Linked DNA regions of Homo sapiens: all the other regions are linked to region 2. Evidence: promoter capture Hi-C in 16 types of primary human blood cells and fetal thymus (Javierre and others, 2016). All regions are on one chromosome and are shown on one strand. Each heading gives the region's core, a stretch centred on a gene start or on the middle of the fragment in contact. The rest is flanking DNA. Distances are from core to core; before and after follow the strand shown. Region 1 holds the start of C2orf76 (chromosome 2 open reading frame 76). Region 2 holds the start of INSIG2 (insulin induced gene 2). Region 3 holds the start of TMEM177 (transmembrane protein 177). Region 4 holds the start of STEAP3 (STEAP3 metalloreductase).

Evidence for each region. Contacts are between HindIII fragments. The CHiCAGO score rates a contact against its expected background, and 5 or more counts as called.
Region 1: the fragment with the promoter of C2orf76 here is called in contact with the fragment with the promoter of INSIG2 in region 2 in 1 of 17 cell types (naive CD8 T cells); the score reaches 5.4 in naive CD8 T cells.
Region 3: the fragment with the promoter of TMEM177 here is called in contact with the fragment with the promoter of INSIG2 in region 2 in 1 of 17 cell types (total CD8 T cells); the score reaches 5.2 in total CD8 T cells.
Region 4: the fragment with the promoter of STEAP3 here is called in contact with the fragment with the promoter of INSIG2 in region 2 in 8 of 17 cell types (erythroblasts, total B cells, naive B cells and 5 more); the score reaches 10.8 in erythroblasts.

Annotation. Positions count from the first base shown.
Region 1 is chr2:119,365,552-119,368,326 of GRCh38, reverse strand. C2orf76 (chromosome 2 open reading frame 76) reads left to right here and starts at 1,493. Exons shown (of 6, transcript NM_001322331.2): 1 at 1,493-1,537. DBI (diazepam binding inhibitor, acyl-CoA binding protein) reads right to left here and starts at 1,350. Exons shown (of 4, transcript NM_001079862.4): 1 at 1,267-1,350; 2 at 22-139. The coding sequence starts at 1,275. RefSeq lists enhancers at 230-429, 960-1,289, 1,660-1,919 and a silencer at 1,390-1,539. The HindIII fragment of the contact is 12,909 bases long and covers 1-2,775 here.
Region 2 is chr2:118,087,171-118,089,870 of GRCh38, reverse strand. It overlaps INSIG2 (insulin induced gene 2), which reads right to left and starts at 1,400. Exons shown (of 6, transcript NM_016133.4): 1 at 1,330-1,400. It overlaps LOC107985940 (a long non-coding RNA gene), which reads left to right and starts at 1,440. Exons shown (of 3, transcript XR_001739662.3): 1 at 1,440-1,620. RefSeq lists enhancers at 1,446-1,635, 1,646-1,695. The HindIII fragment of the contact is 7,859 bases long and covers 1-2,700 here.
Region 3 is chr2:119,677,908-119,680,684 of GRCh38, reverse strand. TMEM177 (transmembrane protein 177) reads right to left here and starts at 1,484. Exons shown (of 2, transcript NM_030577.3): 1 at 1,409-1,484. RefSeq lists a silencer at 1,408-1,637. The HindIII fragment of the contact is 6,463 bases long and covers 1-2,777 here.
Region 4 is chr2:119,222,451-119,225,150 of GRCh38, reverse strand. STEAP3 (STEAP3 metalloreductase) reads right to left here and starts at 1,317. Exons shown (of 6, transcript NM_182915.3): 1 at 1,263-1,317. RefSeq lists silencers at 665-734, 795-1,574. The HindIII fragment of the contact is 5,957 bases long and covers 1-2,700 here.

The DNA of each region.
Region 1 (2,775 bases), core at 244-2,743, 1.3 Mb before region 2:
TCCAACCCCCGCTCTGCATACCTGTATTTATGTCGCCCACAGTTGCTTGTTTGTAGTGGCCATAGATGAACAGCATCTCCTCATCCGATGGCTTGGTCTTAAGGTGCCTAACCTCCTCTGCAGCTTTCTCAAACTCAGCCTAAATGGAAGGGAGAGGAGAGGATTGAGGGCCTCCTCTGGGTGGGAGAGGGTAAGAATCCTACTGTGGCCTGATGACAGCCCAGTTACGGGGATGGAGAGGTGGGAAAGGTGGCACCCTTCGGGCAATGCAGCCCCTGAAGTGTGTCTGCCCCTCCCTGCCCCAACAGGGCAGCTAGAAAGATTCAGCAACACAAGAAGGGGAAGCCCCTCCAGTTCACTCATTCAATCGAAAACCATATATCCAGAGCTCTCACAAACGCAGGCATCAGGTCTGGAAATACAGCAGTGAAGAGGGCAGGCCAAGCCTTCGCCCCCAGTGGGGGTCCCCTCTGCGGGAGAAGCAGCGCGGCCAACTGCCTGGCCACCACCGGGCCAGGCACTAGGGAGTGGCCGGGGCTGCAGCGAAGCCCTGGCCTGAGGACAGACGGGGCACAGTATGCTGGAAACAGCTGAAAGGGGACAGGGCATGAGTGCCGCGGTGTCAGCGCCGGAGCCCGTTGGTCCCCTCCCTCCCCCTGGGGCCCGCGCGTTCAACACCGACCTCTGTCCCAGTGCCCGGATTGGCAGAGGCAGGCGGGAGGAGCCAGAGGTCGCCCCACATAGCTCGGTCTCAGACAAGGGTCTACACTGGAGAGAAGGGAGGGGCCCCTGGGTCACCTCTCCCCGGGCCGCGATTCTCCTCGTCCCGCACTCTGAGCAGCCGGCCCCGTACTTCCCCTGACCTCCAAGCTCTCGGCCACGGACTCCTCGCTTCCCCACTCCGCCGCGACGTCCTGCCCTGTGCTTCGGGATGGGGACTGAGTCTCCTCGCTCCTCCAATCCGTGCAACCCCTTCCCCCATCTCTCCATCAAGCACCCTCGACTCCCACCCCTCTCCCGCTACACAGCGAAGTCCACCCCATGGGCAACTTTCCGGCAGTTGCGGGGTGGGCAGCAGATTTAGAAATCCCCAAACGGAAAATCCCGCTCACAAGGCTCTGTCCAACGAATCAGGGCTAGGCATGGGCCCATGAGCAAGTGAGGGGCACGGAAGGAAAGAGCCCGAGAGCTTCTGGCAGCCGGCTGAGCCCCCAACGGGCCTCCCGCCCGCTGCACCTTCGCAGCCTGGCTGTGCACGCGCTGTACCTGAGACATCCTGGCCGACTTGCAAGAACTCCAGGGAGACAGCGGAGGAGGCGAGGACCAGGAAGCGATCGCCCAGATTGCACTGGCAAGCGCCTTTAGAGGCGCGGTCCACTCGCCCCAACCCTGCTCGGGCGAGCACCGGAAAGCCAATCAGAAGCCAGCTATGCGCTAGGGGCGTGCCCAGCCCCCGCCGCGGCGCTAGCCCCGCCCGAGCCCACGTGGGACCGCTTGCGCAAACGCCGGGAGTAGCCGAAGGGGACGCCGGGAACAGGTGGGGACAACGGAAGTAGGGTGCTTAGTTTTGCTGCCGGGAGTTGGTCGAGAGTTGGGTTCAGTCCTGGCCCGTTGTGGGGACGGCACGCGGGGGAAGGGGAGGGGACGGAGACCGAAGAACGGAGGTCCTTATGTTTCTTTTCTTTCCTTAAATCTTGCCCGGCCTGAAGAGGCCGGAAGTTGCATCTCTGGACAAGTAAACTCTGAGACCTGGGAATGGCGGGCGGGACCCGCTCCTCCCTTGGGGTCTAGAGGAGACCCCCGGAGATGGTCCCTGATGAGCAGCGTGATGGTGGAAAGCTGGACTGGTCTCCCGAAAGGCGAAGCCGAGGCTTCTTCCTCTGAACTTTTGGCACGTTCTTTGACTTGCTTGTGGCCGTAGTGTCAGGCCTGTATTGCACATTTATGTCTGTGGTGCATTTCTCCATCTGGTGCGTTAAAGGCAGGGACGGTGTCTTATTTGTCTTGATTTAACAAACTTGGACGGGACGAAGTGCTCAGCAAATATTTGTTAAATGAATGGCTGTTTATTGAACTCCTGTTGGGTAACTTGCACTGTTCTAGACCTTGGCAGACAGCAGTGAACAAAGCGGGTGAATCCCTGCAATCTTGGAACTTACAAGTAGGGACAGTAGTTTATACAATAAGTTAAATATAGAGTACTTTAGGGGCTTAGAGAGTTGGAAGTTTATAGTTTTAAATGGAGGAGGGGGAGTATTGAGGGAAGGTGACATTTGAGAAAGTTCCTCAAGGAGGGGAGGGAAGATTCCAAGCAGAGAACAAGTGTAAAGGCGTGGGCAAGGAACCAGGGGAAGAGTAGAAAGATGAGGCTGGAGAGTTTTGGCGGTGGCAGACTGGCTAGGTGATGCAGAAGTTGGCCATCACAGGGACTTTGACTGTCATGCTGAGTGAGATGGGAAATCGTAAAAGGGTTTGAAAAGAGGATGAGGAGACGGAGGGGAACGTCTTTGCGAGATTGTTACACAGCCTAATCTCCATGGGAACTGAAAGGAGCAGCACAGGTGTCTGGAAGTGTTTTAGGATCGATGTTTAAGAAGCTAAAGGAAGACTTCTCTGGCAGTGGTTGCAAAGGAGCTGGGTGAAGAGAGGGAAATGATGGAAAATTCTCTGGAGATCATTAAAAAAGCAAAGTCATTCCTCTCTAATTCATAATTTGTGGCAAGAGGGCTGGACTACAAATCTCTGCCCTGCCTACACCTTCCCCCTCCCCAGGGA
Region 2 (2,700 bases), core at 151-2,650:
AGTTACTCCATCGTTTCGAGATAAGTTTCTGAGAACAAAGAAAACTCTTTAAACTACTGAACTGCATTTTATTCTTTCCTTTTCCGTGTGACCATCTGCAAAAGCAACAGTTGTCAGTTAAACAGAATCAACCTCTTTCCCGAGTGGACATGATTCACAGCTTGGTCACTGTACAGCAGATGTGAACTGAGAACTACGACATAACACAATGACAAAACACAGTACTGAGCACAAAGTACAGGGAAAGAATGAAAGACAGAAAACAGGAAGAGCACACGTCTGATTTTTGTTTTCTTTGGGGCCCCCATTAGTAGCATTCCCTTCATCCATCTTCATTCAGTGGTTCACTATCAGGGCCAAACCCAAAAGTTACAAAACACCATCTAGCTACTGTCTGGCTGCTTTTATTTTTTCTGCACCAGGACGGGAGCACGCATTCCCCTGCAGTCCTCAGCTCCACCGCAATACTGATACCAAACAGTTTCAGTGGCCCAGCTGCCAAGCCTAACCATTCCTTTTTAAAGCATTTCTTCATCAATCCTACAAAACAGCAAGTTCTTCATGGTATATTTTCCTAGAGCATCTAGCTAATATCATACTTTAACAACTTTTTCCAACGTTAACTGGACATGGGTCATTATCACTTAAGTGTTAGCGCCATTGCCCGCGCCCACTCCCATAATCCACACTGCTTTCCTTCTCCATATTGCCAATCCCCACTAAGCAACCCTAAAATCTAGTAATTATCATCAAATCCACTTCTAGGCCCTGGCAAGAATTATTTGGCTTTACCGAAACACCTATTCCATAGGTAACCAATTCCAGTCAAAAATGCCAGAGTATTACTCCTCAACCCAATGCCCTATCTCCTTAGTGGATTATAAACTTACTACGACAACCTGTCTTCTTTGGATCCAATCCCCGCCCAAGTCTGAGTCTTCTCTCCCAGGCTACAAGCCCCCAAGTCCTGGCAGCTCTATGCTTGACAGCTCGCTGACCTCCACCTCATCAGACCATTGGGTCGCCCTTCTCGCCGTCCTCCAGCCTTCTTCCCGCTCAGACACTCATCCACTGTCCGGGGAGCCTCGACCCCTCCTATACCCCCTCCCCGATCCCGCAGTCCCCTTCTGGACCTTGCGGACCCCTCTCAGGTAAGCGGAGCCCCTTGCCCTGCAGGCCCATCAGTGGTCCTGGCTCCCCGCACCTGCCACCAGGGTTCCCAGGCTGCAAAAACACAAGTAGTTCTTCTTCCCAAGGGCCACCCTCCTCCTCAGGCCGCTTTCCTCAGCACCACGTCACCCGCGCTTCGCCGGGAGACCCCCAACTCACCCCCGCCTCCGCCATCTTCTGGGACCAGCCCCCGTACCCCCTACCGCCTCTTCCTCCTCCACTCCCACAACTCCGCCCGAGCTCCACTGCGCCTGTGCGGCCAACGAGGCCGCGCGCAGGCGATCGGGGCAGAAGAGCTTCCGGTTCCTGCTGTCAATAAGACGTGGACCTGCGAGCCGGGGCAAAAGGGCTTCCGGTCTGCGGGAAACTGGAGGCTAGCGGTGGGCGTGGACCGTCGAGGTGACTGGCGGTTGTCGGATCTGCTGTTGTTTGCTGACCAGGCAGCCGTAGGTAATGACGGATGCCCAGACCCTGTGGGCGGAGTAAAGGAATCATGCACTGATACACGCACACTCACCGAGGGGCGCGTCCGTCTGCGTGCCCCTCATCTCGTAGCCGAAAGGAGCGCGTTCCGGGGCAGGCCTCCGGGTACTTCCCGCAGAGGACCGGGCTTTATACTCTTTGCTCCTTTTCCTCCCCTAGTAAGTCATAACTTATTTTGGGAGAAGGGCATAGTTATTTGTCTCTCGTCTCCATGCTACAGCACTTTATGTGCTTTTCATTCAAAATCGTTCCTCGAGGACGACCAAGTAATGTGATTTGGGGGACAGTTTTCATAGGAAGGGCTTTATAAGTTTACACCAACATAAAGAAAACTTAAAAACCTTATAACCGCTTATTTTTCAGAAGTATTATTTTTCATTTAATCTAAAACCATACTTTTAGAACATGAAACCAAGCCAAACAGATCTTTGCAGATTGTGCAAGCGAACTTTTTTTTTTGAATGAAAGTGGTGCCATCAATGCAAAAGCAAGCCCATATAAGTGCCGAAAGGTACTCGTCATAAGGAGGAGTTGCTTCCCTATTCTGAATTTTTATTTATTTTTATTTATTTATTTATTTGAGACGGAGTCTCTCTCTGTCACCCAGGCTGGAGTGCACTGGCATGATCTCGGCTCACTGCAACCTCTGCCTCCCGGGTTCAAGTGATTCTTCTGCCTCAGCCTCCCCAGTAGCTGGGACTACAGGTACATGCCACCATGTCTGCCTACTTTTTGTATTTTTAGTAGAGATGGAGTTTCATCATATTGGCCAGGCTGGTCTCAAACTCCTGACCTCGTGATTCGCCCGCCTCATCCTCCCAAAGTGCTGGGATTACAGGCGTGAGCTGCCCCCTGAATTTGTTTTTTTTAAGCAACTCTTTTTAAAAAGAGAGAAAAAATAATCTCTCTTGAGTGTATTAGTTATTGAGCTATTCCATTTGGAGGTGGCTTAACCCAAAACGTGTATGGATGTGGTAAGATTACAATGGACTTGAATGTTCTAGATGAAATCTGGGCCGAGAGTAATTGCATAATAGTTTTCCAAAG
Region 3 (2,777 bases), core at 235-2,734, 1.6 Mb before region 2:
AAATCCCAGCTCCGTCTCTGTGCGTCAATTTCCCCATGTGCCAAACAGGTGTGTCGTAATGGCCCACCTCTAGGGTGGCGGTGATGAGCACATGAATAAACATACATAAAACATTTAGTGTCTGGCACAGCAGCAGATATTCCTTATAATAATGGCTGTAATGACTTTTATTCCCATCGCTGGGCACGGCACTCCAACTGCCTCATTCCACTCATCCCATGGTAAAGCCCTATGATTACTAATTTATAAGGAAAAACGTGTTCAATTTATTGAGTGCTTACTATATGCTAGACTCAGTTCTGAGCACTCTTACCGATTGAACCCTCACAACCCCATGACCTAATTACTACAGCTAACCCTATTTCAAAGCTGTGAAAACTTAAATGGCCAAAATCCTAAGCTAGTGAAGTGACAGTGTTATGGGCTGCACTGTGTCTCCTCCTCCTCCCCAGTTCATATATTTAAGTCCTAACCCCCAGTACCTCAGACTGTGGCTGTATTTGGAGACAGGGTCTTTAAGGAGATAATTAAGATAAAATGAGGCCATCAGTATGGATCCTAATCCAATTTGACTGGTGTACTTATAAGAAGAGATTAGGATGCAAACAGGCACAGCAGGAAGATCATGTGAGGATCCAGGGAAAAGGCTACCACCTACAAGCCAAGAAGGGAGGTCTCAGAAGACACCAACCCTGTTAACACCCTGGTCTTGAACTTCCAGCCTCCATAACTCCCAGAGGACAAATTTCTGCTGGTTGGGCCACCCAGTCTCCGGTACTTCGGCATGGCAGCTCTAGCAAGCTAACACAGGCATAGTCAGGTGTCCACAGCAAACTTTTTGTTTTAGAAAACTTGTTATGCCAAATTACAAGCATATACCAAAGTAGACAAAATAGTACATCCATCAACTTCAATCCCATCAACTCATGGCCAATCTTGTTTGATTTCTCTTTCCACCACACTTCCGTCCAACTGGTTTATTTTGAAACATCCCCGGGCATCCTATCACTTCATCCGTGAATACGTCAGTAAAAATTCACAATTATTTCACTTTGATTGAAACTTACTGTATTCCTGTCCGTGAAAAGTGCTTAATGAGCAACGAATGAGTTGCCGCAAACAAAAACGCAGGGTACCGCTTGGCCTATCTTAATCAAGAACTCCTATAAGAATCATTATCATTCGGGCTTTTTTTTTTTCCCAATGCGGAAAGTGAGGCTAAGAAAGGAAAGGTCTGGACCAAAGTCCAACGTCCCTAGGGCCATCGCGCTGCGGGGTGGGCCTAGAACACAGTACCATGCAGCCCGCCGGTGGCTGGGGGAGGAGGGGCTGCAGGAGCCCCGCAGAGGGGTCCTCGCTACGCTTCCACTCTGGGCCCCTAGGCTACTCCGCAGTCTGAACGCGTTACCGGGTCGCATCAGGCCGGAGAAGGGTCCCTCCCGCTCGTCCGTGCGCTCACCTCCGCCGCCGCTCGGAACGCCTACATGTGCGCGCGGCAGGGCGGCCGCAAAGCACGCCGGCCGGGGATCTGGGGGCGGGGACTTCGGGAGGCGGAGCTCGCCGGCCCCGGATCTTGGGATGGGGACTTCAGGGGGCGGAGCTCGCCGGCCGGAGATCTCGGGGCGAGGATTTCAGGGAGGGGAGCTCGCTCGACGGGTCTGGGGGCGGGACTCTTGGGGGTGTGGCTGGGGGGGCCTCAAGGGGATGTCCGTGGGGGGCTCCGGCCGCCGCAGAGGCTCCTTCTCTAACTGTGCACCTTGGGGTGGGTCCGCTAGCACTTCCTCCTCTGCGTTGAAATGCGTCTTTGATTAATACAAAAATTAGCTGGGCGTGGTGGCGCACGCCTGTAGTCCCCAGCTGCTGGGGAGGCTGAGGCAGGAGAATCGCTTGAACCTGGGAGGCAGAGGTTGCAGTGAGCCGAGAATACGCCACTGCACTCCAACCTGGGCGACAGAGCGAGACTCCGTCACACACACACACACACACACACACCCCGGTGTCTTTGATCATGCCACACACACACACACACACACCCCGGTGTCTTTGATCATGCCACACACACACACACACACACACATACCCTGGTGTCTTTGATCATGACACACACACACACACACACCCACCCCGGTGTCTTTGATCATCACACACACACACACACACACACACACACATCCCGGTGTCTTTGATCATGCCGTTGAACCCCCGAAGGAACGGCAGCCCCGCGTGGGTCACCAGGCGGCCTATGGCAGGGCCCCCATCAGAACCCATGCCCATCTGACTGGCCGGCCCGTGTACTTCTCCGTCTGGAAGCGCTCACCCTTGGCGGGGAGCTCTGAGCTTTATGTTTATTACCATGTTCGCTGCCCCCCAAGCTCCTCCCAGGTGCTTCACACTGTACAGTCCACAGAGCAGCGTGCCATCTGTCATTTCTCCTTTCCAGCTGCTCTGTGAGGTAGATGAGGGATCATCTAATCTGTGCACCAAATCCAGCTCTCCACCTGCTTTTGTAAATAAAGTTTTCTTGGAACACAGCCATGCCCAATCCTTTACAGAGGGTGAAAACAGACTGCCTAGGGTTAAAGCCGGGCTCCACCCCTTACTAGCTGTGTGATAAAATGAGTTGGTGTATATGTAACCTGTGCCTCACGGTTTGTGCCGCCTAGCCATTAGCTATTATTATTAAAGTCTGTTCTGTTTCTGAGCCCCCCCCCCCAATTTTGGCTGCTCAGTTGTTTGTATGTAAATAGTGCAATGTGACCTCAGCCAAAGCCAGAATG
Region 4 (2,700 bases), core at 68-2,567, 1.1 Mb before region 2:
GGATCTATATTTTTAACAAGCCTTGCAGGTGACTGAGAGGACACACCCAGGTGAGACCCTTTGGTTTTGTGGACCTTCTGGCTCTCAGCACTGTATTCTTGGGGCTGCCAGAATCCCCGTGAGGACACAGCCTGTTTCGCCCCAGTGGTAGGTTCCTCTGGGCTCCAAGTCAGATAACTCTGGGTTCAAATTCTACTTCTGCAACTTCCTAGCTGTGTATCCTTGCAAAATACGTGGACTCTCTGAGGCTGTTTCCCCATTTTTAACAAGAGATAATGGTGCCTTCCTGTTGTGAGGATTAACTGGGATATTGTGCTCAAAGCCCTTAGCAAGATGCCTGGCACACATAAATGGGAATATCTGCTGTTAATTATATTATGGCTGCACTCTGATGGACAGAAATACCTCCCTGGGGGCATTTCCAGAATCCCCACTTCTGGAGCCCATCTCTGAGGTGGCCCTGGATATTTGGGAGGCCTCTCTGTGCCCTCTGCCAGGGCTCCAGCGGGACCTTCCTGCTTCTCCCCACGGATCCGGCTTTCTGGTCCCCAAACCGCATATTATCTGGGCACACCCTCCCCTTCATTTACCCAGAGTGACCAAAGTTCCAACCACACCTCTCCGGGCAGCCTGTCCCCAAATTTCGGGGAAGTGGGCAGGAGGGGGAGCTTTGCCGGGCAGGAGGGGGAACTTTGCCAGGCAAGGGCTCCGCGGGCAGAGGCGGGCACTGGTGAGGCCAGCCTCCTCCTGGGGACCAAGGTCGGGCGCCCCTGCCCAGCCCCTGCACCTGCCCCTGTCCCTGCCCTGTTCGGCTGCGAAGGGACTGGGAGGTCTGGCGAGGAAGAGCCTGGAAGATCCCCGCCCACAGCTACCAGCCCTCCTTTGGGACCGCTGGCCAGAGCCCCAGCCGTGGGGCACACGGGACCTGTGGACTCAGCCGGGGTCATCCGGAGGGGCGCCCACATCTGCACCCGGGGCTCCGGAGCCTGCTCCCCGCCACTGTCGCCGCCGGCCCTGCCTAACCTGCGCGGCGCAAGCGGCTTCCACGCCTAGGGAAGGAAGGCACACGGGGTGGGGGCCCCGGAACCCGGTTTCTCTGCCGCCGGGCGCACGTGGCTCGGTCCCAGGGGACAGAAGTCGCCTCCAGACGTGTGGCGGCACCCGAGGTCCGCGCAGCGACGGCGCAGGGTGCAACCGGGCGGGCGTCTCGGGGACCGGGCGCAGCACGCAGCCCCGCGGAGACCGGGGGAGGGTACACTCACCTCTGCGGCCCGCCGCTCGGAGCGACCGCGGCAGCTGAAGGTCCGCGGCGAAGGCGGTGGCTCGGCCCGAGGCTCCTCCTCCCCCGCGCCCCACCCGCCCGGGAGGGCCGGACCTGCAGGGGAGGTGGCCGCCCTCCAGCCCGCCGCAGCTTATCCGGCTCGGCCACCTCCCCCGGGGCCGCAATCAGGAGCCGCCGGGTCCTCGCTCCCCGCCCAGCCCTGCACAGCCCCGGCAGCGGTGGCAGCGTCCAACCACCCTCCTCCCCTGGCCCCAGGCGGGAGGTCGCCAGCCGGCGCCAACACTTCCTGATTTGCAGTGCCCGGCACACGGCTGAAGTGAGCAGAACTCCGGGACCTCCTCTTAACCCGGCCACGGAGGGCACCGAGGCCAGGGTGACCTCTAGGCCCCCCTCTCTTAACCTGAGGAGCACCTCGAATCCTTGTCCATTTTATAACCGAGGCCAAGTGGCAGCCACGGTTGCAGGTGGGAAGAGACCAGGGCTCCAGATTGGGTCCGGATCCCTTCCCTCTCAACAAGGTTGCGCCCAGGCCTTTGTGGTCCCCCCCCAATCTCTGTCCCTTGTCCACCCTTAGGGCAGACTTTTGACCCTTCCCAGCAGTCCTCAGGTTCCAAGACCGGTGGGATGGCGGGTACCTTTCTCCCGGAGCTGCCTCCCTGTCTAGGCCTTCTGGGCTCTGAAACCCTACCCGTCCCCCCTTCCCCCTGGGGCACTGCCCGCTGCCCTCCGCACTTCCAATGCCGATGGCTTCACAGCACTGCAGCGAAGCAGGGCGTAAGTAAGGGGAGGCTGTCTGTGGGCACCTCTCTAGAGGTGTGCGCCCTGGTCCGAAGCCCCTTCTCACCTGTGGTCACATTTGCCGGCTGCAGTTATTTTCTTTACAGGTGAGGAGACCCGGGCTTTTCCGCTCAGATTCGTGGAGGCTGAGTGGGGGTTCCTGACCCCTGGTACTCTTTCTAGAGTATTCCTGGGAGACATACACTATTAGCCTCTGATAAGGAGCTTCAGGTTATTTTTAGGAAGTCTAAGAATCCTGTTTTCTGGGGAGCCAGCCTCTGTTGGGGAGATAAGCCTCCGGAGGCCAGAGGCAGGAGCTGGGCCTCAAGGAAGGCCCCACAACTGGACCCCAAAGGGCACGGTGGGGAGGAAGAGGCAGAGCTCTGGTCTCCCTGTGGAGGGAGTGCTGCTGTAAAGCGCCTTTCCCTCCACCCCCAACTCCCGCCGAGAACCCCCCCACCCCCGCAGGCAGTTTGCTTTCCCCCTCCACAGCTTTCCTCCTACCCGAATACCCACCTCCCAGCTCTCTGCTCAGCCAGGGCCCAAGGCCAGAGCCTCTCTTCTCTTGCAAGAACTTTCCTGTCCCACCTTGCCCCAGGGCAACACCTCTTATGGCAATTCTTACAGGTCCTTTATCCATT